7 separate regions of the Homo sapiens genome follow, and regions 2, 3, 4, 5, 6 and 7 are each linked to region 1. The links are contacts of gene promoters, found by promoter capture Hi-C in blood cells and fetal thymus (Javierre and others, 2016). All regions are on one chromosome and are shown on one strand. The core of a region is centred on a gene start or on the middle of the fragment in contact, and the rest is flanking DNA. Distances in the headings are between cores, read along the strand shown. Region 1 holds the start of MED30 (mediator complex subunit 30). Region 2 overlaps SAMD12 (sterile alpha motif domain containing 12). Region 3 overlaps SAMD12 (sterile alpha motif domain containing 12). Region 4 overlaps SAMD12 (sterile alpha motif domain containing 12). Region 5 overlaps LOC105375724 (a long non-coding RNA gene). Region 6 has its middle 86 kb from the start of EXT1. Region 7 has its middle 62 kb from the start of EXT1.

Evidence for each region. The method cuts DNA at HindIII sites, captures the fragments that hold promoters and counts their contacts. A CHiCAGO score of 5 or more calls a contact.
Region 2: a contact is called between a fragment that was not itself captured here and the fragment with the promoter of MED30 in region 1, in 1 of 17 cell types (M2 macrophages). The highest score is 6.1, in M2 macrophages.
Region 3: a contact is called between a fragment that was not itself captured here and the fragment with the promoter of MED30 in region 1, in 6 of 17 cell types (fetal thymus, M1 macrophages, M2 macrophages and 3 more). The highest score is 13.6, in fetal thymus.
Region 4: a contact is called between a fragment that was not itself captured here and the fragment with the promoter of MED30 in region 1, in 3 of 17 cell types (M2 macrophages, endothelial precursors and M0 macrophages). The highest score is 6.2, in M2 macrophages.
Region 5: a contact is called between a fragment that was not itself captured here and the fragment with the promoter of MED30 in region 1, in 1 of 17 cell types (monocytes). The highest score is 7.5, in monocytes.
Region 6: a contact is called between a fragment that was not itself captured here and the fragment with the promoter of MED30 in region 1, in 2 of 17 cell types (fetal thymus and monocytes). The highest score is 8.7, in fetal thymus.
Region 7: a fragment that was not itself captured here is called in contact with the fragment with the promoter of MED30 in region 1 in 1 of 17 cell types (fetal thymus); the score reaches 12.1 in fetal thymus.

The regions. Positions count from the first base shown.
Region 1 is chr8:117,518,961-117,522,807 of GRCh38, forward strand. MED30 (mediator complex subunit 30) reads left to right here and starts at 1,753. Exons shown (of 4, transcript NM_080651.4): 1 at 1,753-2,093. The coding sequence starts at 1,917. LOC105375716 (a long non-coding RNA gene) reads right to left here and starts at 1,760. Exons shown (of 7, transcript XR_928569.3): 1 at 1,594-1,760; 2 at 79-217. The HindIII fragment of the contact is 1,953 bases long and covers 1,395-3,347 here.
Region 2 is chr8:118,496,513-118,500,359 of GRCh38, forward strand. The region is part of intron 2 of SAMD12 (sterile alpha motif domain containing 12); the gene reads right to left. Among named protein-coding and RNA genes, the nearest start is that of SAMD12-AS1, 120 kb to the right of the region's middle. The HindIII fragment of the contact is 5,867 bases long and covers 1-3,847 here.
Region 3 is chr8:118,419,045-118,422,891 of GRCh38, forward strand. The region is part of intron 3 of SAMD12 (sterile alpha motif domain containing 12); the gene reads right to left. It overlaps LOC105375724 (a long non-coding RNA gene), which reads left to right. Exons shown (of 7, transcript XR_001746062.2): 6 at 504-618; 7 at 747-3,847. Among named protein-coding and RNA genes, the nearest start is that of SAMD12-AS1, 200 kb to the right of the region's middle. The HindIII fragment of the contact is 1,714 bases long and covers 924-2,637 here.
Region 4 is chr8:118,400,715-118,404,561 of GRCh38, forward strand. All of the region lies in intron 3 of SAMD12 (sterile alpha motif domain containing 12), which reads right to left. The region is part of intron 5 of LOC105375724 (a long non-coding RNA gene); the gene reads left to right. Among named protein-coding and RNA genes, the nearest start is that of SAMD12-AS1, 220 kb to the right of the region's middle. The HindIII fragment of the contact is 1,072 bases long and covers 1,284-2,355 here.
Region 5 is chr8:118,287,351-118,291,197 of GRCh38, forward strand. It overlaps LOC105375724 (a long non-coding RNA gene), which reads left to right. Exons shown (of 7, transcript XR_001746062.2): 3 at 889-975. It also overlaps a transcript of SAMD12 not described here. Among named protein-coding and RNA genes, the nearest start is that of EXT1, 180 kb to the left of the region's middle. The HindIII fragment of the contact is 1,745 bases long and covers 983-2,727 here.
Region 6 is chr8:118,195,925-118,199,771 of GRCh38, forward strand. It overlaps a transcript of SAMD12 not described here. Among named protein-coding and RNA genes, the nearest start is that of EXT1, 86 kb to the left of the region's middle. The HindIII fragment of the contact is 2,879 bases long and covers 313-3,191 here.
Region 7 is chr8:118,172,098-118,175,944 of GRCh38, forward strand. It overlaps a transcript of SAMD12 not described here. Among named protein-coding and RNA genes, the nearest start is that of EXT1, 62 kb to the left of the region's middle. The HindIII fragment of the contact is 8,861 bases long and covers 1-3,847 here.

The sequences.
Region 1 (3,847 bases), core at 503-3,002:
TAGAAACCCACCATCTGTTCCCCATTTAGCAACCAGAATAAGTGTTCTAAAATGAATATTTCAAATTATTCCTCTCACCTTGAAACTCTTCAATGGCTTGCTATTTCACTCCATAAATTCTCAACTGCTTGACATGGGTTAGAAGATCCTCCAGGGTTGCCTCTGTCTTCAGCCTTATTTCCTAACACTCGTCCTCACACTGAACTTCTTCCAGATCCTAGAAAGCATTAGGAGGCCTCTTCACTTCAGGTGTTGGCACTGGCCTTCCTCGTCCTCATAGAAAAGACTCTATCATTCGTTACTCCCTTCCCTATCCACCTTCAGGTTCCACACTGCTCCCTTCAGGTCGTTCTCAATCTCCTAAATTGTTAGCACCCTGATATCAGGAACTTTTGCTTCAAGACGCTCATCACAATAGTGTTCTGTTTGTCCCCATGACAAACATGCTGCAGGGCTTTTGCCTGGTTTGTTCAGTACGCTATCTTCACTCCTAGCACCCAGCACATAATAGGTGCTCAGCCAATATTTGTCGAATGGTAATTACCGAAGACCTGCGAATTACTATGTTTAAAATCTCTACCAGGGTTCCTATGACATATTTAGTAACTATTTCCTGGAAAGTCCGTACAATGGAGCATTCAGATACTTCTAAAAAATGCAATGTTTGTGCCTATCACTAATTTTACATTCTTCACTTTTCCCCACTTTGGAGATGAACAGTAAGTGAGAGACATTGTGAGAGACATTTTAATTTCTCTTGCATTTATCATGTCACTCAACAATCATTCAATAAGTATTTATTGATACTTGTGCCAATCACTAGGTGTTGAGAATAAGTGAATAAAATAGTCTGTTTTCATGGAGTTGGCAGTGTGTGTAGATAGGGTGAGATAAAGTCTGAAAGTAAACAAACTGAAAGCTATATAAAATATCAGACAGTAGGCCGGGCGCGGTGGCTTATGCCTGTAATCCCAGCACTTTGGGAGGCCGAGGCGGGCGGATCACGAGGTCAGGAGATCGAGACCATCCCGGCTAACACGGTGAAACCCCGTCTCTACTAAAAATACAAAAAATTTGTCGGGCGTGGTGGCGGGCGCCTGTAGTCCCAGCTACTCGGGAGGCCGAGGCTGGAGAATGGTGTGAACCCGGGAGGCGGAGCTTGCAGTGAGCCGAGGTCGCGCCACTGCACTCCAGCCTGGGTGACAGAGCGAGACTCCATCTCAAAAAGAAAAAGAAAAAAAAATCAGACACTAATAAGAGCCAGAGTCAGAAAGAAGTGTGTGTGTTGATCATTTTTTTTGCTTACAGATACTGGGAAAACTCAAAGAATAAAACATCTGAGCAGGGACCAAGAGCAATCGGGGAGTCCGTATCATGTCACAGAGAAGCGTACAAGCTTAGGAATCTTGTTTTCTGAATTCGAATCGCAGGTTGCCAGTTACACCTGTATGCGACTCAACAAGTACTTTAACCTGTCTCTTAGCTGTTATACTACAAACCTCAGGCTTGTTAAGAGAAAATGCTCCGCAAGGAACTAAACACAGAAGGTTCTAACGCTGAGCCAAGACTGGGAAACGAACTCTGGGAACTCACCCCAGGCTCCCCAAGAACATCGCCCCTCTGGCTGGAGCGCAATTGGTGATTGGCTACTTAACCCGTCCGTCCTTTCCCGCCCAGGGGTCCAATCCAATCCAGCCCGGCTCCGCTCGGAGACAGTTCGCCGAGTGGGCGGTGTCTATGACGTTTTCTGACGTGTTACGTCACAGTGGGCGGAAGTCGCGGCCGCTGTTTTGAAATCGGGCCGCGGGGGGTCTCTCAAGCTGGTTCCAACGCTGAGGCCCCACAGCCTCCCAATTCCGGGCAGACCCCTGACACCTGCTGTCTGGCCCCTTCCGGCCTGAAGCTGCAGCCGCGCCATGTCCACCCCTCCGTTGGCCGCGTCGGGGATGGCGCCCGGGCCCTTCGCCGGGCCCCAGGCTCAGCAGGCCGCCCGGGAAGTCAACACGGCGTCGCTGTGCCGCATCGGGCAGGAGACAGTGCAGGACATCGTGTACCGCACCATGGAGATCTTCCAGCTCCTGAGGAACATGCAGGTAGGAAGGCGGGCGCGCGAGGCCAGGGGGATGCAGCTGGGAGGGAAAGGGCCTCTGGTTTCCTCTTTACGTGGGGCCCGTGGATGTCATCGGGGCTGCCCTGGGCAAACCTTAGGTGTAGGGTCTCCCCCATTCACACTCAAGAGTGTCCCCAAAAGTCGGATTTGTAGAGGTGATGTTTTCCAGACCAGATTTCTGCAGAATTGAAGCCAATTTTTTTTAGATTCAATCGAGCTCTTTAGTTACTCTGTAAACTCTTGCACCTTTCAAGGCAGAGATGGGTCGCACTCCACTTCCCTCTTTAGGTTGCTTTAAATGTTTTTTCCAGCATTTCTTCTGGGGAGGTCCAAGGAGTTGAAGAATTTACATTTTTTTTAAAAAAACAGTCCTCCTTTTTTTGGCATAGTTAATATACAGTAAACTACACTCACCTAAAGTTTTGATATATATGTGTACTGTAGTCTGTATACTTGTGAAATTATCACCACAATCAAAATAGTGTACACATCATCCCAGAAAGTTTCTTCATACCCCTCTGACATCTTTGCTTCCCACCTTCCATCGCTAAGCAACCATTGATCTGCGTTCTGTAATCATAAATTAATTTGCATTTGCTAGGGTTTTATATAAACGGAGTCTACAGTATGTGGGCTTTTTTTTTTGTCTGAGATCCTTCACTAAGAATGCATCAATAATTTCCTTTTTATTGCTGAGTAATGTTCCATTGTATCCATGTATCACCATTTGCCTACCTTTTCTTCTGTTGATGGACATTTGGGTTGTTTCCACTTTTTGGCTGTTGTAAATAATGCTGCTATGAACTTTTGCTGACAAATTTTTGTGTGAACGTATGTGTCATTTCTCTTGGACAGATTCAGGAGTGGAATTGCTGGATCATGCAGTACATGTCTGTTTAATACTTTAAGAAACTTTTCCAAAGTGGCCTGAGCCATTTTACGTCCCGATTATTGCTAGTGGGAATGTAAACATTGCTGTTTGAGGGTTCTAGTTTCTCCTCATCCTCATCAACACCTGTTATGTCTTGATGCTTTCCAAATACTTCTCCCAGTCTATCCTGCCTTTTTATTCTCTTAATACTGTCTTTTGAAGAACAGACATTTTAAATTTTGATGGAATCCAGCTTACTGATTTGTTCTTTTATAGATTTTGGTTTTGCTGTCATACCTAAGAAATCTTTGCCTAACCCAAGGTGACAAAGGGTTTCTGTTTTCTTCTAGAAGTTTTGTACTTTCAAGCTTTATATTTAGGTCTACAACCTATATTTAGTTTTGTGAGTTTTTAAATATGTATACATAGTGGCAGATACGGATCCAAGTTCATTGTTTTGCATTTGGATATCCAGTTGTTCCAGCACCATTTTGCTGACCCATTTTTAATGCTTGCTTATATTACCCACTACATGTAGTAGATATTATTTTTGTTTTACAGATGAAGATTCTGTACTTCAGAGAGATAAAGTGACTTGCCCAAACCTAGTCAGTGGTAGGGTAAATTTGAAACCAAGTTTTCAAAAATCTTACAGCTCTTATTTCTGTGGGTGTCCAAAAAAGTGTTTTATTGCTTTTTTTTTTTTTAACTGGTCAAGACTTTTTTTTTCGTCCTGATTATAAGAGTAATTCAGTTTCGTGGAAATTTTTAAGACCATGTGAAATATAGTACAAAGGAGATCCAGGAGAAATTATGACATTCTTTGGCAATAATTTAAAAAAATGAATAGATTCATATCTAGAATG
Region 2 (3,847 bases), core at 490-2,989, 980 kb after region 1:
GCCATATACCAAAGATTGAAACTGGAACACTTTCTTTCACCACATACAAAAATCAACTCAAGATAGAGTAAAAGCATAAATATAAAACCTCAAACTATAAAAACCCTAGAAGAAAACCTAGAAAACACCATTCTGGACATAGGCCTTGGCAAAGATTTCATGACAAAGTCTCCAAAAGCAATTGCAACAAAAACAAAAACAGACAAGTGGGACCTAATTAAAGATCTTCTGCACAGCAGAAGAAACAATCAACAGAGCAAACAGAAAACCTACAGAATGGGAGAAAATGCTGCAAACTACGCATCTGACAGAAGTGTCATATCCAGAGTTTATAAGGAACTTAAGCAAATTTACAAGCCAAAAAAAAACCCAAATGACCCCATTAAAAAAATGGGCAGAGGACATGAACACACACTTCTCAAAAGAAGATATACATAGCCAACAAGCATATGAAAAAATGTTCAACACCACTAATCATTAAAGAAATGTAAATCAAAACAATGAGATACCAACTCACACTAGTCAGAATGGCTATTACTAAAAAGTCAAAAAATAACAGATGTTGGCGACATTGCAGAGAAAAGGGAACACTTACACACTGCTGGTGGGAATGTAAATTAGTTCAGCCACTGTAGAAAGCAATCTGGAGATTTCTGAAAGAACTTATAAACAGAACTACCATTGGACCCAGCAATCCCATTGTTGGGTGTGTATCCAAAAGAATATAAATCATTCTACCAAAAATACACATGCACCTATATGTGCATCACAGCACTATTCACAATAGCAAAGACAAGGAATCAACCTAGATGCCAATCAACGGTGGACTGGATAAAGAAAATGTGGTACATACACATCATAGAATACTATGCAGCCATAAAAAATGAAATAATGTTCTTTGCAGTAACATGAATGCAGCTTCAGGTCATTAACCTAAGCGAATTAATGCAGGAATAGAAAACCAAATGCCTCATGTTCTCACTTATAAGTGGGAGCTAAACGTTGAGTACACATGGATACAAAGATTGGAATAATAGACACCAGGGCCGACTTGACAGGGGAGTGTGGGAGGAGGGGGAGGTTACCTATAGGGCACTATGCTCACTACCTGGGTAACAAAGTCATTTGTACACCAAACCCCAGCGACACAAAATTTACCAATGTAACATACCTGCACATGTACCCCTGGAATCTAAAATAACTTAAGTTGCGGGGGGGGGTGGGGGGAAAGAAAAAAAAAAAAGAACAGCATTTGAGAACATTTATTTACTTTTTTTAAAAAAGATGCCATTTTGAGGATGAATACACTTGATCAGGGATTTAGAAGTTTTCAGACATGTAAAAATGGCTAAACTGAATGTAACAAATCTAGTAAGAAATGCTAATGAAATCTGAGATGTCAGAGGAGACATCAATTAAACTTAAAAACCAAAATGAAATTTTCAAAGGCAGAAACAGATGGAGAATATGAAAGAAAGGAAGAAAGTCAGGAAGTGGAAAGAATGAAACAACACAGGACTAATTAAACAGAAGAACAGGAAGCAGATAATTAACGAACTGAAACAAGGCAAGGCATGTGTTATATCAGGATATGCTATGTAGACATAGACATCATTCTTAGGCCCAGCTGGCTTCTGATTCCAGCTGAGACAAATTTACCTTCACTTTTAAAGACGGTGTTTTGCAACCCATTTAATCTTTTCAATGACCGCCAAGTCACAGGAACAGTCTCAGCTTAAGGGTCCTGTTTATACAACGAGATGCTGTTCCCTTGAAGACAGGTCCATTATTATGGTATAAAAAATATAGAGAAGAATGAGATTGTGTTTGCAATGAAATATAAAATAAGAAAGTTAATATACACGAATATATTTTATTTAAGATCTGCTTGTTGGCATGTTATGCCTGTAGCATTTACTACCTCGCAACACTGCTAGAGGTATGTGGATAGCTCCAGGCATATCACCAAATCAGAATGCGAAATCACTGCTCTGAATTTCTAATAATGTCACGACTGCACCCCTTTCTTCTTCCTCTAAAATCTATGACGCTAGCTGTTTAATAATAATGCAGATATACTTTACCCAAACTAAATTCCTGGAAAAGGTCAGTGTTCACACCTAGAATTTTCATGGCTTATGGTGTATAGCACAGAAAATATGAAAATTAATAGAAATGATTACAAAAAATGATATTGCCAAGATATATCTTGATGGAAAGAATACACAGAGTTCACATTAAAATAAAAGTATATGTTTACTCATTCACCCAACAAATACCTACATGGCACCTATTAGGTGTGACATATATCATAGAAATGGTAGATAGACCTAGAGGACAGTCAAAACACAGAACCTTTCCTCAGACAGTATAGTGTCTTGTGCTATGAAGTATTTTCCATATATGCTTTATCTCCCCACCAAGTTCACTTTACACCCCCTGCACTCTCCAGTGAATACATGCTGGCTTATCTAGATGGAAATTTGATGGAGGCTATTATCTGTCAGAATAGGCTAGGTTCTGCTGCAGTAATGAACAACCCCCACATCTGTACGACTTAACACAAGTTTACTTCCTGCTGACACTACATGTCCAGTATAGAGGCTCAATTTATCATAGTCACTTGAGGACTTAGACTGCCAGAGGCTCATCCTAACATGGGCTTCCATAATGAACACAAATAGAGAAAGGGGGTACTTGGTCTCAAATTGGTAATTGACTGCTCCAGCCTGAGTGTGACACACATCATATCTCATTTGCCAGAACCACCCAACCAGACTGAACAGAAAGTTCAGTCTTCTACAGGCACAGAGGGAGAGAAGGAGCAAATATTGTTACCTAGAGCTAATGATTACAACAGTGACTTACTGTAAAGAATAAGAGGAAGTGAAAAAATTGTGGCAAGGACAATTAACCTGACCTATTTCCAGCTCCAAGACTTATTAGCCACATGTCCACAACGTCATGTAACCTCCTCAAGCCAAAGTTACATGGTAATAATACCTCTCCTGCCTATCTCAGAGAGTGGATCTGCAGCTTCAGTGAAGCAGATATTATTCAATACTGTTTTACATTTCTAGAACATATGTAGGCTTTCAGAATAGTTTCATATGTCTATGTGTTCAAGGAGAACACAGTCAGCCAGGGCTAGAGAAAAAATGTGGAAAACTGGAGGCTGCTAAAAAGTCAGTGTGGATAAAGCACAAATAATTTATAAATCTTGGCCATAGACTCCAAGATTACCAAGTTGAAGGCCAAGAGCTTCAAGGATCTCTTCCCTTGAGTAATGAAAAAAATTAAAGATGCTCACTTCCCCAACTTCTTAGTCCTCAAGAGAATCAACAGAGTTGTCAGGGGTAGCCAACATCTACAGAAGACTGTCCTTAATATGGCTTCATGGTCCTCTATGCCGGCACAACAAAGTGCCCTTTTATGCCATCTTTAACCACATGCCTCTTCTCTTCCCACATCAGAGTAGACAGTGATCTGTACGGTCCCCCCACATACATGAAGATGTTGATCTGCTCCCCAGGATACACGCCCCTGAGTTTTGCCTTTTTTTTTTTTTTTTTTTTTTTTTGAGACAGCAGAGTTTCACTCTTGTTGCCCAGGCTGGAGGGCAATGGCGCGATCTTGGCTCACTGCAACCTCTGCCTCCCGGGTTCAAGTGATTCTCCTGCCTCAGCCTCCCGAGTAGCTGGGATTACAGGCATGCGCCACTACACCCAGCTCATTTTGTATTTTTAGTAGAGACGGGGTTTCTCCATGTTGGTCAGGCTTGCCTCAAACTCCTGACCTAAGGTAATCCACCCGCCTTGGCCTCCCAAAGTGCTGGGATTATAGGCGT
Region 3 (3,847 bases), core at 531-3,030, 900 kb after region 1:
GTTCTCCTAGGACAATCTCATTCTTGGTGTCAAAAGTCTTCCCCTCTAGTTTGCATGTTAACAGCATAGAAGGCTCTATTCTAGTCAACTGTGAATGTGCTGAGTATTTAATTGACAAAGCAAAAATGATGGAAGGAATTGTCCTTGAACTGGAAGCAGAAAAAAAAAAGCCTTAGGTGTCAGAGGAGCTGAGTACTGCCATCTGCTGGCTATGGGGTCTGGGTCAATTTTTCTTTTTTTTGTCGTTTTTTAATATCTCTGAGCTTCTAGATTCCTCATTTGAAAAGAGTTTCACACTAATATTCTATCAACAGGGGTCTGAGGTTTGAAAATGTGTGTGAAATATCACTTTATAAAGTTCAAGTATGATACAAATATCAGTGGGAAATTTCTTGTGGATAACAAAACCTGTAAGATTCTGGGGACTTCCTCAGAATAGTTAACTGAGTATGTTCAGGAAATTGTTTAGAGACACTAAGTGGCTTCCCTTTTATATTCTACAGTGGTACCGTTTTTCAGCCCCAGCCATCACTTCATCCTTTGCTCTGTAGCTTTCTTCATTTGTTGGGAGAGAGGCTATTCTTTTACTTGAACTTAGTGGGAGCTCATTTTGCAAAGGTAAGTATATCTTGTCCCCATTTTTCTATGTGCTGAACTGATCATCACTGTGAATGTATTACTAAGTGGAAGTTTTAAGGTTAAGATCCTTATGGAATAACTACAGCAGTCCTATCTTCCCCCACTAGATACATGCTTCACCATCCCCTGAAAGATTTATATAGAAGGACACTGTGGCAACATGTGACCTTTTGAAACTGCTCCCTTGGAAGGAATTCTAATGTCCTCCTGTCTATGTTACCTGCTGTGTACCTACCACTGGGGAAAGATGCTGAAAATTTAATGAATTGCAGAAAAGCTGTGCAAGCTTCTCTTTTGGAAGAACCTTGGAGAAGAGAGAGGCTGACAGAAAGAAAACTTTCAAAGAAATTACACTGCCCTCAAGGGTGGCATCTACAGAGGACAGTGACAGGGCCTTGGAGACGTATGATTTCTTCTGCTGCTCATTTACCTAGGTCTGTTTTCACTCTGGTGACTGGCCACAATCATGGGAAAAGTGAAGAAATCTGATAACTATCAAGGTACAAATTGCTAGAGAAAGAAAATCGGGACTCTTACAACTAAGGGCTAATTGATGTGGAGATGGAAGGTTTGTGGTGCTATGTTTTGCATGTGCCTCTGTGTGTGTTTGTGTGTGTATATATAGGAGGGTAGGAGGTAGAAGAATTCACAGTACAACCTAATAATCTGGGCCATGGACCCAGCCAAAGAAGCGGGGACAGGGGTTGAATGGAGAAGCACATGGGACCAGATGTACAATGTATCTGGAAAACAGACACATATACCGCATCCAGGGAATAACTGCAAACAGTCAAATAACATATTTTGTATTCAACCACTGACACAGAAATTCATGCACAATGTATTTTATTTTTTAGTGGAAGAGAGAGAACTATGCCACCCCTTTAAGGTATGATGCCATTCTTAGAAATAAATATTCGTATAGAGAAAACTATCTGAAAGGATAGATGTCAAAATGTTTACATAAGAGATTATTTCCGGATGTAAGAATTAGAGGGGAATTTTATATTTTTTATTTTTTGTGTATGTACAGTTTCTAATTTTCCTACATTTAGTATGTAAAAAGGAAAAAAAAGTAGCACATTTTTAGAAAAGAATTCTAAATTTCTTTTATAAATATCACTAAGGAAACAGATTTGATTTGGGCAAAGGGAAGAAGAGATTAGAATAGGGGTTGGCAAACTACGACCCTCTGAGCTAAATCTGGCCTGCCACCTGTTTTTGTAAATAAAGTTTCATTGGAATACAACCACTTCTTTCATTTATATACTACAAACATGGAGTTTAGCAGTTGTGACAAAGACCCTACGACCTACAAAGCCAAATGGCTCTCCTATCTGGTCCTTTACAAAAAAAGTTTGCCTAAACCCAGTTTAGAAGAATCCTCCTAATATGGTCTTACCTATTTTACCTTACTAGTTGTGTGAGCTTAGGGAAGTCATAACTTTCACACCTCAGGTTCCTCATGTGTAATGAGATGGATAACACATCTTAGACATTTTATGAAAATTAAATGATTTAATACATAAATGGTGCTAAACACTGTGTTTGGCATATAGTAGATGCTCAATAAATATTATGCTCCTACTTATTTTCTACTTCCTTTAAATAAAATGCATTATTCTGATTTCATGGCAAATCTAATGAAACTGCCATTTTTGCTAGTCAAAATTGTTCAATATTGGCAATTTTATATGGCTCAATGTAATCATACTTTAGCCATTTACTATTCTCATTGCTCTTGTTTAAGTTGTAATTGCTGAGCTTGTATCTATCAATGTCACCAAGGTAGTTTTAGGGTTAGCTAAATTGCCACAAACGGCTGGAAACCAAAATCTATTAATAGCATTGTTCTATCCAAATGTGGACACTTTGGGTGTATGAAACAAAACACTGTATTTGTATTTCACTTTGTTACTTGTGTAACACAGGGAAATCTGCATTCAATGCACCTATGGTGTGACAGATTAGGGCCTCTTTCCTGCTGCCCTAAATAGAAGCTTTTTAGATAAAGGATATTTGCTTCCACCCTACAAAACAGCACCTGACTTAAATTTCAGCAGACTCAGTGAGCTTTCACAGCACTGCGACAATCACTCTTGGCACTGAGCAAAGTTCTGACACAGTCTACCACAACATCCTGGGAAGAACTGCTGAAGGGAACATGGGGCTCAGGATGCTACAAAATTTGGAGACTGTCATTCAATCGCACTTGAAGATGATATTCTGGGGCTTAGTGCAGATCCAAAATAGGAGTTCTTTAAAAAAGTAAAATGGGGTTTCTCCAAGAACAAGACAGGAAGACCGACTGGAACATCAATGGAATGTAAGTGTAAGAAGTTGCAGATAGGGAAGTATAGGATGAGCTTCATGAAAAGGAGGCAAAATCAGGAAACTGAAAGACTAATCAAAGTATTCTTATCAACAGAAATGAAGAAAGGCTTTTAGTTCAGTGCTAAGACTATCAAAGGAAGAACAAACCCAATTTAATCCAATCAACACTTATTAAATGCCTACTTTATGCCAGGCACTGGGTTAACACAGCTAGAGATAGTAAGATAAATCAGACACAATTTCTACCTTAGAGAAGTTTCTGGGCTGGTGGGAGGGAGATAAACATGGAACCAAATAACTTTAATATCGTGATAAATGTTATAATACTAACAATAATAGCTGTCATTTATTAATTGTGTAAAATGTAAAGCAAACACAGAATGGAAAAATTAGTTTTGCTTGGAGAGGTCCAGAGAGGGTAGGGAGGAGGGGAATAATTACAGTCAGCACCTGAAAATGACCAAAAGTTCACGAAGCTAATACTGAGGCAAGAATGAGAGTGATGTGCTGTGGTTTCAGGACAGGATGGATTGTTGTAATGGTTAAAATGAAGCTGACGAAAAACCTCATAAGCCAAACTTAGGAATTGTGACGTTATTCAGTAGGCATTAATTCTCAATAAGCAGGAAGCAGTTTGGTTCAGTCCGGTTTAAAAAAGACAAGAGAATACTTTCCTAGAGAGCCATGAGGCAGGATCATAGGAAGAAGAGAGACTAAATGGTTCTGTCTGTGAAAATTTAGACCAGAAAAGTGGCAGTAAGAAGAGAGAAGAGGAGATGGATACAGGATGCAGCATGTCTTCAAACTGAAATGCAAAAGTGGAGGGAGACATTCTGAAGACCCAGAGGAGAAACAGATGAAAAGAACTGTGGTG
Region 4 (3,847 bases), core at 570-3,069, 880 kb after region 1:
CAGCTACAACAATCTGTAAATCAACACACACTCCACCATGTTGTGACTGTGAGAACACATACCCTCACACGCCAGGAGACAGCCTTTGTCAAAAGAAAGGCCGATTCCAATGAATACTGATCAGCCACTAAAAACAGAACTGAGAATGGAAAAAAAAATCTTATAACTGATAAATGTATTGCTATCATAACATCAACAGCTTGAATTCAATGAAAACTATATTGGTTAAATTAAGTCTTCCACATAAAGATGTCAAATGTTACAACTTCACTATTACAGTGAAGAATAGCTTCAAAATGTGCCTAAACTGAACAATTAGATGGCACCATCCTTACAATGATGTTATAGAATTGTTAGGTCTAAAACCACAAATTTCTAATTGAATATCAAATTTTATTTGGTTTGGGTTGTATTTTCCAGTGCCAAATCATCCCAATACAAAGCATCCAGATCATTTCTGTATCTTGCTTCTAATGAAAAGAAAATGTGTTTGCAGAAAATATTCCTAGAGTTCTCCCTTATTCATAGAGTACTTTGAAAACTGAACATGGCTGAAAGTGTGAATTTATAACATTTCAGATTTTCTTTGATTGTAAAGCAATAGTCTTACTGGTTCCTTTTCGCCTCAGGTCCTACATATTTCTGCATTGGATTATGACAGATCTGGGCTTTATTTATTTTAGAGACAGGGTTTGGCTCTGTCACTCAGACTGTAGTGCAATCATAGCTCATTGTAGCCTTGAACTCCTAGGCTCAAGTGATCCTCCTGCCTGTGCCTCACAAGTGACTGGAACTATAGGTGTGTGCCACAGACTCCCTTCTTCTTCTTTTTTTTTTTTTTTGTATAAACAGGGTCTCACTATGTTTCCCTGGCTGGTCTCGAACTTTGGCCTCATGCGATCCTCTCACCTCTGCCTCCCAAAATGCTGGGATTACAGGTACGAGCCACTGTGTCCAGCCAAGGGCTTCATGTAAAAGATCAAAAAATTTAAAAACTCATGAGGAGTTTTTAGATATGTGAGAACTCACTTTTAAAGTGAGTTAAGTCATGGGATGCATTGCTGGGATTGAACACACATACACAACCTTTGAAGATACTGGAGATTGCTCAAATATCTACTAAATGTGCTTCTGTATTTAACCTTGAGATTTTATTTTCAGAATGTCTTCTCATAACTTACACATGTATCCACACGATTTTCAATCTAATTTTTAAGATGAAAGTGAGCTTACTTGAGGGTGATTTACATTTCCTTTATTTCTTCCTTATAAATTATATGTTAAGCTTAATATTCTGATTTACAGAGCTCAGTTTCCTTGTCTTTCCATAAGAAAAAGGCATGTTTCCAAGGTTTTATTCTAAACAATCCACTGCATTTAATTATGAAAACCTATTGAACTTAGGGAAGTTAGAGGAGAAGAAAAAAAATCACACACCACAAAAGGAAATAATTTGGTATTACAAAATCATTGAAATTAGAGATAGAAAAGGCTTATTAGATCATATATCAAAGAAAGTGCATGCATTTGACACTCAGATTTAATATGCCAGAGATGTTGGGTCACCGGAGGTACTTCTGAGGTTTTGATAAAGTACAGAAACTAAAAAAGAACATTTAAGGAGCAGAGCCCTTAATAAAAGGCAAGATCGAAGTATGAGAGAGAAATACGTAAGATGCAAAGAAAAGGCAGATGGAGAAATAACACTGAAACATCATGGAGAAAACACTTTTTCCATGTTTTCTGCATAGAAATGTAAACAGTGACAAAATGTCCAAGGACTGAGGCTTATAAGGGGACTGCTCTAGCCAGAAAAGCCCCTTATGGGGTCAAAGACTGAAGGCTGTTATTGTGTGGATAACACCCCAACCTTTTATCTATGGAATGTCATTTAACCCTTAGAGATTCCTGGCCTTGTTTTCCTTCTAGTTAAGAGCAATGGGCAGCCATAAATATTCTCCTGTGTGTGTTGGGAGAAAGCAAGGGAGGAGATATGGCAGAAGGAGCCCTGTCTGATAATGTAAAAGCATGAAAGAACAGACGCTGGCATTCACTAAGACAATCAGAGCAGAATTACCCCAAAATATTAAGCATCTTCAGATTCTACTATATGACCTCTGATAACACAAATCCTTGGTAAGCCATCATCTTATTGATCTTTTATTGTTTTTCTTCATGCACACACACAAAAAATCTGATGCTAAAAACTAGTTGCTGCATGTTGCCCAAAATAGAGAAGCCAGCCAGAATACATAGTGAAGTTGGGTAAAAACTTGCTGATAAGCAATATCTAAAACTTACCCAAATCCCTGTCAAGAGTCTACCCACACAGCCTGCACTGTGAATTGGGTACTAAGCTTCTCTCGTGATTTATCACATATCTTCACACAAATAAGGCATCACAAATATCTGTCTGTGAAGGGAATGCTGCATCTTCATGACAGCCTTGCAGTTCAGTTTCTTCAAATTCAAGAGTATTTCCTAATTTCAACCAGGTCACTGTTGCAACTGGGCTAATGAAAACAAAGAGAAAGGAACAAAAATATGTCCTAACTTGCACAAATTGGACTAATTCTCAGTGAAAAGGGGGAATAAAGTCTGATATACTTTTATAAATATTATGTACAGTCTGTGTGTGTGTGGTGTATTTTTTTTTTAATAAGAGGCAGTATGGCAGAGTGGGTAAGAGTAGGATTAGGGAATAAGAATCCCTGGATTTAAATTCTAGCTGTTTCACTTATTAGCTTGGTAAATTGGAACATTATCTTAAGCTCCTTTATCCTTAGTTTCTAAAATAAAAAAAATTATAGTAGTATTTCTTTAACAAGGTAGTCATGAAAATGAGGATTAAATTCGATGATCCATATACACTTAGTACTTGCCACACAGGAAGGCCCTAGTAAGAGCTGCATTAAACTAAAAACAAAAACAAAACAAAACCCTAGTTTCTTAAAATAGATTGTGAATATCTGGAGAACATGACCTTACAGGGTCAACTTTAAAGAATGAGATTTGTCAGGTCTATCATGACATAATACAATGAAGTGCACCAGAGAAATAAATCAGAGGGAGAGGAAGCTCTGGAGAGGTAGTGAAACAACATTGTCATCCTTGTACAAAAAAGAGCGATTAACTTGAATCTAGATGGCCATAGCATTCTTGATGACAAAGGTATTTCCATATCTTTGCAATAGAGACAATATACTGCCTTTGGTTTCCAGCAATATAAGTCTCAGTGTCATGTGTTTTGCTTGATAGATTTTTGGTACCTTTATTTTTTCTTGAGACAGGGTTTTGCTTTGTCCCCAGGCTGGAGTGCAGTGGTGCGATTGATTCTGGCTCACTGCAGCCTCGACCTGCGGGGCACAAGCAGTCCTTCCATCTCAACCTCCCAAGTAGCTGGGACTATGGGCATGTGCCACAATGCCCAGCTAAGTTTTAAAACTTTTTGTAGAGATGCAGTCTCACTACATTGCCTAAGCTGGTCTAGAACTCCTGGGCTCAAGTGATTATCTCACCTTAGCCTCCCAAAGTGCTAGGATTACATGCATGAGCTACCATGCCTAGCTGATTTTTGTTATTTACCTTGCTTGGTATTCTCTGAGTTTCTTGGATTTGTGCTTTGATATCTGCAATAATTTTGCAAAATTCTTGGCCTCCTGAAGAAAGTTCAAATACTTTTTCGGTCTCATTCTTTCTTTTTTCCATCTGGAATTCCAATTACCCATATGCTAGACCATTTGATGTGATAGGTGGTTGAAATAGTCTGAGACAGTCCTGATTTCAAAGCACCTTGATTGTTTGCCTGAAAATGCAGTCATCATAGATTGAACCCACTTTTTCTTAA
Region 5 (3,847 bases), core at 605-3,104, 770 kb after region 1:
TCCTGACCTCGTGATCCGCCCGCCTCGGCCTCCCAAAGGGCTGGAATTACAGGCGTGAGCCACCGCGCCCGGCCAGGAAGAATATTCTTTAAACCGACAGCAAAATGAAAAATAAGAAGTCCGAGCAAAGAGCTAGGGCGAGTAAAGGAAAATCTTTTATTGATAAAAATATTTGGGATAGTGCCGGGACTTAGAGAGAAATTCTGAACATGGTATTCATCATCTCTGCCTCCTGACAGAAGCACGTGGTGCCCGGTTTTTACTCACCTGTATAACTCATGATACCAATTTGTAATTAAGAGGAAAGAAAGAAAGGACTAGGGGGAAAGGGACATTTAGGAGGCTCATCTCGAGGGTTTTCCTTGTTATTTCATGGTTTGGTTTTCTGTGATTGTTGTTCACTTCATTTGTTTTCCTTGTTGCCCCAGGGAGATATTGGCAAAGTGTGGACCATCATGAATTTATGAGTGCATAGGCTCTTGAGAGCCTGCTGGTTCATGGAAAAGCCCCTAATAAATATGTGGCCTAAACAGTCATACTTTCTACCCATGCTTAACCTGATGGCTGCCCCTAAGGATAGGAAAATGACATGGAAAGCTTCTGCTTTTCTGGATTGTTTAATTTAAATCCCGTGTTCTGATACAAACTTGCCATTGGAAAAAAGAACCTTGGTACAAGGTGTCATGGACTGACTGTCCTGAAGACCAAGCGTGGGCCTATGAGCAGTAAATTTTTATATCATAAAAATTACAATGGTGGTGAAAAGAAGTGACGATAATACTAGCTATTAACTATGATGATGGACTCCATGCTAAAGATTTTGTAGATATTATCTTTAATTCTCAAAACAATACTGCAATATACTTATTTATTATCCCCATTTTACAGGTGCCAAGACTGAGGCTCAGAGAAATGAAATAACATGCCAAAGGTCACAGTGTCTAGTGGAGCTGGGGCCAAATTCAGGTTCGCGTGGTAATAAAGCTTTTTTTATGCCATCACCCTGCATAACTGTCTGTTATGATCTTTGAAAAGTCAGATTTTTTCAAAATCACAAAAATTCTAATTTTGATTGCCTTACACACTCTTCCTCATCATTGTATTTTTCTATTGGAATTAAAGTTTGCAACCTTTGGAGACTAGAAATCTAAGGCAGCAATTTCAGATGTTTTGAAGACCCTCATAAACTACAATTAGTCCACAATAACTAGCAAGAAACAAACACTTCTAAAAAAAGCATCTAGTCATTTAAAATGATTTTTAATTTCATGACTAGTATATAATTATACAAGAACAGAGCTATTTAGTTAGAAAAAATAACTTTGAAGATGAGAGTCCATTTAGTATTTATTTGCTCCAAGGTTCTAATTACTTCAAAAACTACTGAAACTTCATATACGATTACTAACAGCATTCAATAGCAGCTTTGATGGAAGTTGAACCAATCTTTTAAAAATTTTTTAGCCTCATTAACATGAGAGAAATAAAAAATAATAAATACCAGGGGCACATATATATGATGTCATTATTACTTTCCCACTTTGTTGCCAGTTCAGGTCTCCCATGCTAGAAAAATGAAAAATAAAACCTAACATGTCTTCCTGGTCATTTTGGAATTGAGGCCAACAAAATAAGACCAGTGAAGAACAATAAACACAGTATTGTTTTTCTGTAATATATTAGCAAATCCTGGTAGCTTCAATTTTGTTTCATTACATTTCCAATATGTGCATCCATCAATTCATCTTCTTTTCTTCCCATAGTTAAGATTTATGCACTTTATTAATCACCTCAAGACAGTCATCTCAGCAGTTTCATTTGGTGGAGTAAACCAGTCAAACCCCATCAGACTTCTGGGGATGTCACACAGCAAACTTTGGATTCCTGGCAACTTGAATCACCCTTGCCAATATGAGATTTTTCAGAGCAATCCATCTTAGGGCCAACTAATATATCACATCTGCCTCTGCTCTTTTCCTAATTAATAGGTTCAAAGAGAGACACCTGCTAGATCACACAAATGTCCCCCTGAAGCAGCCTCAGCATATAGGTTCCTTGGCAGCAGCAGATCAAAATGGCAGGCAGTTAAATGTTCTATTTTCCAAATGCAAGTTGAATGATATGAAGGGTCTAGGTGGCATTCAGCAAACCCACATTCTCCAAAGGGCTTTTAAAAACAAAGGTAACACATTCTTCACATTCACTGCATGCTCAGGTGGTTTAAAAATATGATGTTGCCATGTGTGATGGACCAATCATTTGTGCTGGCTTCTAGCTTACAGCAGTGCTAACCAGAATCAGGGCTGCTGACACTCTACTTAAGTTGTTGCCACCTGTTCTAATTCTTGGTAACTGTATTTTTTGTTATCATTTTTTTGATGCCAACTGCATTCTCCCTAAAGTTCTGAAAGGACATAGTTCTAAAGTTAGTGTGCTCTTAATTAATTTAAAAATATGCTTTATTAAGTCCCCAACTGTGCATTTGAGTTACCTGCCAGCTTCTTTTGAGATACAGAGAGTAAAGACTTGGGTTCCAAATGTAACTAGATCAGAAAGATCTAACTACATTTCCAAATCAGAAAGAAGCAAATTTACAAAATTATTCATTCAAGAGAGATATCTTCTGAGCCTTTTTAGGTCTTGTCTGTTTCTATGATCAAACAGAAGGGTTTGGGTGTGCACTTTTCACACTAAAAGACTCAAATAAGGAAGATTCAATGACTTGTAAGCTTGCAAAGGATCAGCTAAGTAAAAATTATAACCTTATATAACAGCACTGCACATAAGACCAAAAATAAAAAATGCCCTATTTGATATTAAGAAAATGTAATGAAAAATCCAGAGAGGAAAATGGGTTACCACAGTGCTATTTCTATGGTCTTTCAAATGCAGTCACACTTCCAAAATCTTGCAATTAATGGCATTAAAAACTCTCCAGCCTCACAAGTTTATTAAGTAGCAGTGTAGTTAAACAAAAAGGGTGCTAGACTAGACATTGAGAGATCTATACTCTAGCCTTGACTGTGCCTTAAACTGTAGTGTGTTGGTCTTGAACCATGGAACCCACCATACAGTAAGTGGGCTGGAATAAACAATGGCTACCCACTGGTTGCCCTCAAAGGTAGCAGTGGGTCTCCTCGCACTATTTTTCCTTCTTAGAAAAAGCCAAGAAATCATATTAACCCATAATATGATTCACAAATTAGTCAAAACATCACATTTATTTGCTTTTTGCTTAAATTACATTAACTGAAAGAGTTAACACTAGTTATTTCATGCTAATCCATTGCTCCCATTCAGGGATCATGTTTCTACTTAGTGATAAATCAAGTTAATTACTACTTAAGTTCAAATTGTAAAGGGGATCTTGCAAAAAGTAAAACTCATAGGGAAACTAAGTTCTGAGTGGGAACTTGGTGGTGACCAGTTAGGAAAGGGTTTTACTAAAATCCCTTCCAGTTCAGGATTTCTATGACTGCAAATATATAAATATGAAAAATAATTAGTCTTTTTCCAGTGTCTTTTGAATTTCAGTGTAGAACTGTTTTATTTACTAAATGCATGCCTTTACAACTCTTACAGAGAGAACATATACTTGCAGAGAGAGCATTCTAGCCAAACTCACCATTTCCTTGGCTGGCCTGCTCCTCGCTTCACTGGCCTAATTATTCTCATAAGCAGCTTAACTGAAATGTTGGCTTACAAATTTATATTTCAATTTAATTGTGCCCAGTTCCTAGTACAATGAAAATGTTAAAAGTCTTTTCCTATTTTGACAGTGTTTCACTGTGTTTATTTTTAGGGACACTAACAAATAAACTTCATGTTATCTTTATACATACACCTT
Region 6 (3,847 bases), core at 502-3,001, 680 kb after region 1:
TCCTAATTATAGATGTGAAGAGAATTACGGTCTGCAGAGGGCCTGGCAGTCCTGGTGCTGACCTGCCGAAGGGCCAGATCTTGGTGGTGACTGCAACTTCTCTGAGTTCCTTGTTGGAAGCCCCCTTCTCTGGCTCTGCAGCCTGCCAGGCTTGTGGTGAGTCATCCTGCTGCTGACTCATTTGGACCTTCCTCCCTTTCCGTCAGGTTTCCAAATCTCAGGCGTGGGTGGTTTCCAATGGGCTGTGTATTTCCTGAGACCCTGAGCGGAGGCAGACAATGCTTATGTATCTGGAGACACCCTAAAACACCAAGCTTGCTTGCGTTGGAAGTCTTCCAGAACTGGTTACCCATATTTTAAAGCAAAGCCTCTGATGCCCGTCAGTCCCAGGCTGGGACAGTGGGCACACAGAACATACTTTGCTGAGCTTTCCATTCAACCAACTTGATATTTTCAGGAAAAAACATGCTACAGTGTTATGTAGCAAGTCAATATGAACATGTCTCTAATGCTCAAAGACAAGCAATAATTAAGTTGACTGGTTTCCCAGGACTGTGCTTTGTCGTAAGACATAGTTAAAAAAAAAAAAATTAGTCACAGGTATAATCCCAGAAAGGATTAACAAGGGACTAGTAGGTTCTACCCTAAGTAAGGAACCTAGTATAGGACTTGACCCTTTTCCTTCTCTAGGCACATAGTGGGGTCACTTGATGTTTCTCTCTTGATGTTTCTCTCTTGAGAGAATGGCGATTTCAACTTGACTTAGAATTTTTTCCGAAGTGTTAACGTCAGACCACACAAAAGAATTGCATTCTGTTGCCCTTACCATCCATCCACCATGGTCTTTGATTAAAAGAATACCATCCCCTTTTTTCCCTTGGAGGAACTCCTCCCTTGGAGGAGCCAAATAGAAGCCTCCTGTATTTGAGTACCTGTATGTTCATGTGGTCAATAGTGCCTGTGAACAAAGAAGCAAGCTAAGATATCACCATCACTGGACCCCCTTCTTCTTCCCTTTGGTGCTAGAAGTAAACCAGTTGTTCAATAAAGTATCTGGAGGTGAAGTCTAACAGTATTGTGGCCATATTTACATCAACCTACCACAAACAACTGGGGATATGCGAGTAGTGGAGTTTGTCTTGGACAGTCTGAGCCGGAAAAAAAAAAACCACTAAGATTTATAAAAATAAAAAGAAAATACTTGATTTCTCACATGTGCTGAATGTGCTGATTCATCTTGGTGTAGTGTTCTCATATAAAGTGCTTAAGAGTTGGACAGTATACCTTTAGACATCATAACTAACATAATCGAGACGTGTTTACATTCCTACCAGGGCATAATATTGTGAACACTTCCACTGAGATTGCAGAATTGCTGTAATTTTTTTTTTCTAAAACATCATGCCATCTGCACACATAATAAAATAATCCAGTAGTTGCCATGCTAAAACAGGACTTCTAGTGAAGGGCACAGACAGCTCCCCAAAGGGAACTTGAGTTATGCACAGTGATGAAAACTGGAAGCAATTTTCCAGCTAATGGTCTGCCAATGACCACTTGGAATGAGTTGGCATTATATTATGCACCTCATTTTAAATCCACAGCAAAGCAAGATTTTTCCAAAACCCATAATATTGACTGAATGGGTGCTTTTTTCAGTTAATCCAGTTAATCTGTCCACGATCCAAGGATATCTTCTGGCAGTGCCATGGGTTAGTCTTTCTGTGAGGAACAGGCCATGTTCATATCAACTGGCAGGACAGCAGCTTGGAAGGCTAACCGTGTTTATGGAGAACCCTCAGATGATGCTGCAAGAAGAAAAAGGGGGAAATATGGTAAGTTCTTTCCTTTATGTTTCCAGGCACTGATATGTAGCAATTATCTTATTCAAACAAACCCTAACACCCTTAGGCCAAAGAGAAAGCTCTAGTCAGAATAATGGTTACTCAATGCCAGGATGGATTTACAGTGGCTTATATTCATGAAATTTTTTTTTCTACCATTTGGCAAGGCATGGAAGACACCCAACTGAGAAATAGGTGAAGCTGCCTGGAAGGGAGGGCAAAACCAGATCTCTGGAATTGGCATCCAGCCCTATGGCGGGGCTGCAGTTTGGGAAACCATTTCATGTATTATGAAGGTTCATGCATTTGCTTGGTCTGGTGCAAGGTAAGATTGGGGATGGTGTGAAGCATTTTATTGTGGGAGAGAGATGGGGGTTTCATTTATCAGAAAGATTTCTTGGGATGCAATCTAGAAAAAAAATATTGGAAGCGGAATGGCTGGAGCTCTTGAGTTTGCTAGTTGCGAAGTCAGATTAGCTGGGAAGGTTAGAGACTAGATAGAGAAAGTCATTAAAATCGGACCAGAGATTAAACTAATTGAATTGCAACCCTGCTTTTGGGCTTGGGAGTGCTAGTATAAAAATATTAATGTATTTTCCTGAGTGTTCTAATTTAAATTGTCTAAAGTTCCCGTTATTTTATTTGGGTACTCCCTACAGTTCCTTATACATGGGTCTTCAAGAATTATTATATGAGTACAATGGAATGTTTTGCTCAGAAAAATATCAGTATTAGTTTCTAATACACAAAACTATCAGACAATGGGAGAGAAGCACAGCAGGTATTCTTGATGCAAAAGAAAAAAAAATCTACCTCAGTTTTCAAACCTGGCTCTCAAATCTAACTAACTGGCTTTTCAAAACATGACAGAACGCACTATTTGTAAGCAAGTGTTTGATTAACATTTGCTATTTTTGAGAAAATGAAAAAATAAAAGGTACTATGTAAGTGTATTAAATATCAAATAATAATACTTCTGATAGGTTGTATTGAAAGCAGAATACTATTATTGTTGATGGCATTGTCAACTGGAAAAATAATGTCAATTTATTCAAAAATTATTGAAAATGCATATGCCTAAATGTAGTAATTCCATTCCTAGGAGTATATCCTAAGGAAATAATCTAAAAAAAAGAAAGAAGCTATATGCACAAATAGGTAAACTAGAGGTTATTTATCATAGAGGAAAAATTGGAAGCAACCACTCTCTTATTGTTGAAGATTTAGGTTAAGTAAATTATGGTACATTAACAAGATGGATAATTACATGGCCATTAAAATAATACTAATTATGATGATTATGATTATGTAGCAACATGGAAACAGTTATGATATACTACAATATAAAGCTTATATATATGCATAGAAAAGAACTGTATGTGAAAATGAAGGCCCTAGAATTTTTATTACTGTCATCATAGTATTTTGCAAAACAACAACAAAAATTAGGCTCACAGGGTTGCAGGATTGCCCCATGACTAACTAAAGCATCATGATTGTTTTCACTCACTAATACTACCTTGAAAATAAATACTTTGTAATTTCATTAAGAGAAACACTTCAGTATTTTGAAAGGGGTATAAACACCAATGTGCGTAAGATCCTATCCAGGTTGACCTGCTAGGAGGGCAGTACAGCCTGAAAGAACAACATTGATTTCTAGGAACTTGACACAGTGTACCATCCTTGAGACCTGGCTAAAATCAGATCCAGAAAATGTGTGACCTTGGAAAATAATGAATAACCTATAAAATACAATTTTAAAAAAGAATAATGATAATAAAGAGTAAGCCCTAATTAATTATTATACTTTGGAACCTGAGTCATGAGTTGATAACTAGGTTTATCATAGTTACTGCTTCTTTAAATAACCATGTTTCCTACAATGGTCTCTAGTAGCTGAGAGAAAGCAGATATGTCTAATCTTAGGATATTAAAAAAGCACTTATAACCATGGATGTAAGTGGAGTGCAGTATACTTTAGAGCACTTTCCCTTATCATT
Region 7 (3,847 bases), core at 519-3,018, 650 kb after region 1:
CCTGTCGTGGGGTAGGGGGAGTGGGGAGGGATAGCATTAGGAGATATACCTAATGTAAATGACGAGTTAATGGGTGAAGCACACCAACATGGCACATGTATACATATGTAACAAACCTGCACATTGTGCACATGTACCCTAGAACTTAAAGTAAAATTAAAAATAAAATAAACTAAAATGAGGGAATTGTATGTATTGTTTAATTTCAATATGGTTGTTTTTTAAAAAAGAAAGAAAAAGAAACCTGAAACAGGTCTTGAATGTTAGACTTTATAGTCAGTTTCCTCAGTAAAGGTTTTTAACATATAGAATATATATTTGATCATTGCTTTGGTCCTGCTTAACACTATATTTTACAGCAGTCAAAGTCTGCATGCCTGTTTGAGCAAATTGGAGACCATTGGAAATTTGGATGGGAATGTAATTAGCTGAGTTGAACCTTGGCCAAAAGGCATTGTTTTCTAACTGGAAGGTACTATTGGGTTTTTAAAACAGTTTTATTGAGGTGTAATTGATATATATAAAAATCTGCACATATTTAATGTATACAACTTGATGAGCTTGAACATGCACATATATCCATGAAACCGTTACCACAGAGTAATAAATATATCCATCACCTCCAAAAGTTTGCTTCTGCCTCTCTTTCCTTTTTTTTGTGATAAGAGCACCTGAGAGCTCCTTTTTGACAATTTTTCTGTATACAATATAGTTTTGTTAACTATAGGCACTGCTGTACAACAGACCTCTCTTATTCATCTTGCAGAATTGAAACTTTATACCATTTGAACAACAACTCCCCATTTATCCCTCCTTCCAGCCCCTGGTAACCAGAATTCTACTCTCTGCTTCTAGGAATTTGATGGTATTTGTCCTCGTGCTGGTGGAATCATGCGATATTTGTCCTTTGATGACTGGCTTATTTCACTTACCATAATGTGCCAGTTCCTAGGAATAGGGTTTTCTGTCCCTTGCATAAGATAGGAATCATACTTTTCAACAAGCTCCCCTTTCCTGTTGGACAAGTGGTACAGTATTGACACATGGTTTAGAATGCAACCTCCTGAGTGAACAACACTATTCCTTGCCATGCCTGAAATTTCTTTTTATTTCTTTGCCTTCCATCCAAGTATTGATCGAGGCAGGGTTCTGTGTAGCTTACAACGTGTTAGGTGTTGTCAGACTATCATGTTAGGCCTGCCGCTGTAATGGGCTGACTGTCTTTATGGAGGTGGAGAGCAGAAGGGCAAGCTGGTGGATTAAGGAACAGAGGCACTTGCCTTAAGGGACCCAGAGGCTTAGCTTAAAATTGGTGCCCCTGGAACCTCCATCTTATTGACAAAGCAAGTAGCTGTCATTGTACATTACAAGGCCCTGTCTTTTAGACAAGCAGCCTCTGTTTTCTTTTATGCGATGGGCTATTTTTGGATGTGTTCTTGACCATTATCTAATATTTATATATATATATAATCTATATATTTAACTATAGATTATATATTTATATTTATTATATTAAATTATATACATATCCATAACTTTTTTTTTTTTTTGAGATGGAGTCTTGCTCTGTTGCTCAGGCTGGAATACAGTGGTACAATCTCAGCTCACTGCCACCTCTGCCTCCTGGGTTCAAGTGATTCTCATGCCTCAGCTTCCCGCATAGCTGGGACTATAGGCACGTGCCACCACACCTGGCTAATTTTTGTATTTTTAGTAGAGACGGGGTTTCACCATGTTGGCCAGGCTAGTCTTGAACTCCTGACCTCGGGTGATCTGCCTGCCTTGGCCTCCCAAAGTGCTGGGATTGCAGGCATGAGCCAACACATCCAGCCTATATATATATATATTCATAACTTATCTGGCAATTAAAAATACTGCCTGTTAGTAATTTTAAATAATATTTTAGATGGACTGATGTGTAGTAAAAAGAAAAAATTGTTCTGAGTCAGTACAGTTCAAATCTTGGTCCTGCCAGTTAAAAGTACTGGACCTTGGGGAAATCATGCAAGCTGCTTCTGGGTTTTGGCCCCCTCCTCTGTTAATAGGCTAATAATTTTACCTATCCTGTGGGATTGATCTGAGGATTCAATGGGGCAATGTTTGCCAAAGTGCTTTTGTAAAGTTAAAAGGGCTGTCATAGTCATTTGTTGCATGTGGACCTGTTTAATGTCCCCAGTGAGACTGAAGGCTCCCTGTTTTTGCAGATCCTCAGGATGTGTGAGGACACTCAGTTCAGATTTGTTGATTTTTGGGGTTGTTTTGAGGGCCTTTTGGTTGTTGGGAGACAAGAGGTGTTCAAGGCACCTTTTTCTGACTCACTTCTAAGGAGACTGGGACATGGCATGGGTCAAGTGTATCTGCGTGGGCCATTCATTCATTCACCTATTTAATAACTATTAACTGAGTGTTGTTTGGGTCTAGGTGCTTGGGAAAAAGTGGTTCATTTTACTATACTGGCAAATGCTCCACTTCCAGGAGCTGACATTCCAGTGGAGGAAGACGATCCAAATAATCAATGAAATAAAGAAATACAAAATTTCAGAGAATTTTAGTTCCACTGCACAAAATAAAGCAAGATAAAAAGGTAAAAAGTGGGGGTGAAGAAATTATTTTTTCCCCATTTTATATGGATAAATTTCAAATCTACAGAAAAAAATAATATGCAATGAATATGCATTTTCTCATCACCCAAATCCATCAGTATTAACATAATGCCACACTTGCTTTCTTTTTCCCCTCTATGTGTGCATGTCTTTATGTACTTCTTTGTGTACATGTGTGGGTTTTTGTTGTTGTACCATTTAGAATAAGTTATAAATATCATGGAATTTTATCTCTAAATAGTTCAGCAAATATTTCCAAAGAACAGGATCTTTACCTGTGTAACCACAATGCCATATGACTTTCAAAAAATTTAGCAGTAAAGCAAAAAAAAACAAAAAAAAAAAAACAAAAAAAACAAACAAAAACCGGGAGGCATCATATTACCTGACTTCAAACTATACTACAAGGCTAACCAGCTGGGTGCTGGTACAAAAACAGACACATAGACCCATGGAACAGATTAGAGAACTCAGAAATAAAGCTGCACACCTACAACCATCTGATCTTCAACAAAGCCAACAATAACAAGCAATAGGGAAAGGACTCCCTATTTAATAAATGGTGCTGGCATAAGTATAACTGGATAGCCATATGCAGAAGATTGACACTGGACCCCTAGTTTTACCATATATGAAAATCAACTCAAGATGGATTAAAGAATTAAATGTAAAACCTAAAACTATAAATCCTAGGAGAAAACCTAGGAAATACCATTCTGGACATTGCCCTGGGCAAAGACTTCATGACAAAGACTCCAAAAGCGATTGCAACAAAAATAAAATTTGACAAGTGGGAGCTTATTAAACTAAAGAGCTCTTGCACAGCAAAAGGAACCATCTGCACAGTAAACAGAGAACTTACGGAATGGGAGAAAATATTTACAAACTATGCATCCAGCAAAGATCTAATATCCAGAATCTATAAGGGACCTAAACAAATCAACAAGCAAAAAATAACCCCACTAAAAATGGGCAAAGGACATGAAAAGACACTTCTCAAAAGAAGACACACATATAGCCAACAAACATGAAAAAATGCTCAATATCACTAATCATTAGGGAAATGCAAATCAAAACCACAATGATATATCATATCACACTGGTCAGAATGGCTATTATTAAAAAGTCAAGAAGTAACAGACGCTGGCAAGATTGTGGAGAAAAGGGAACTTGTATACACTGTTGATGGGAATGTAAATTAGTTCAGCCACTGTGGAAAGGAAAGCAGTTCAGAGATTTTTTCA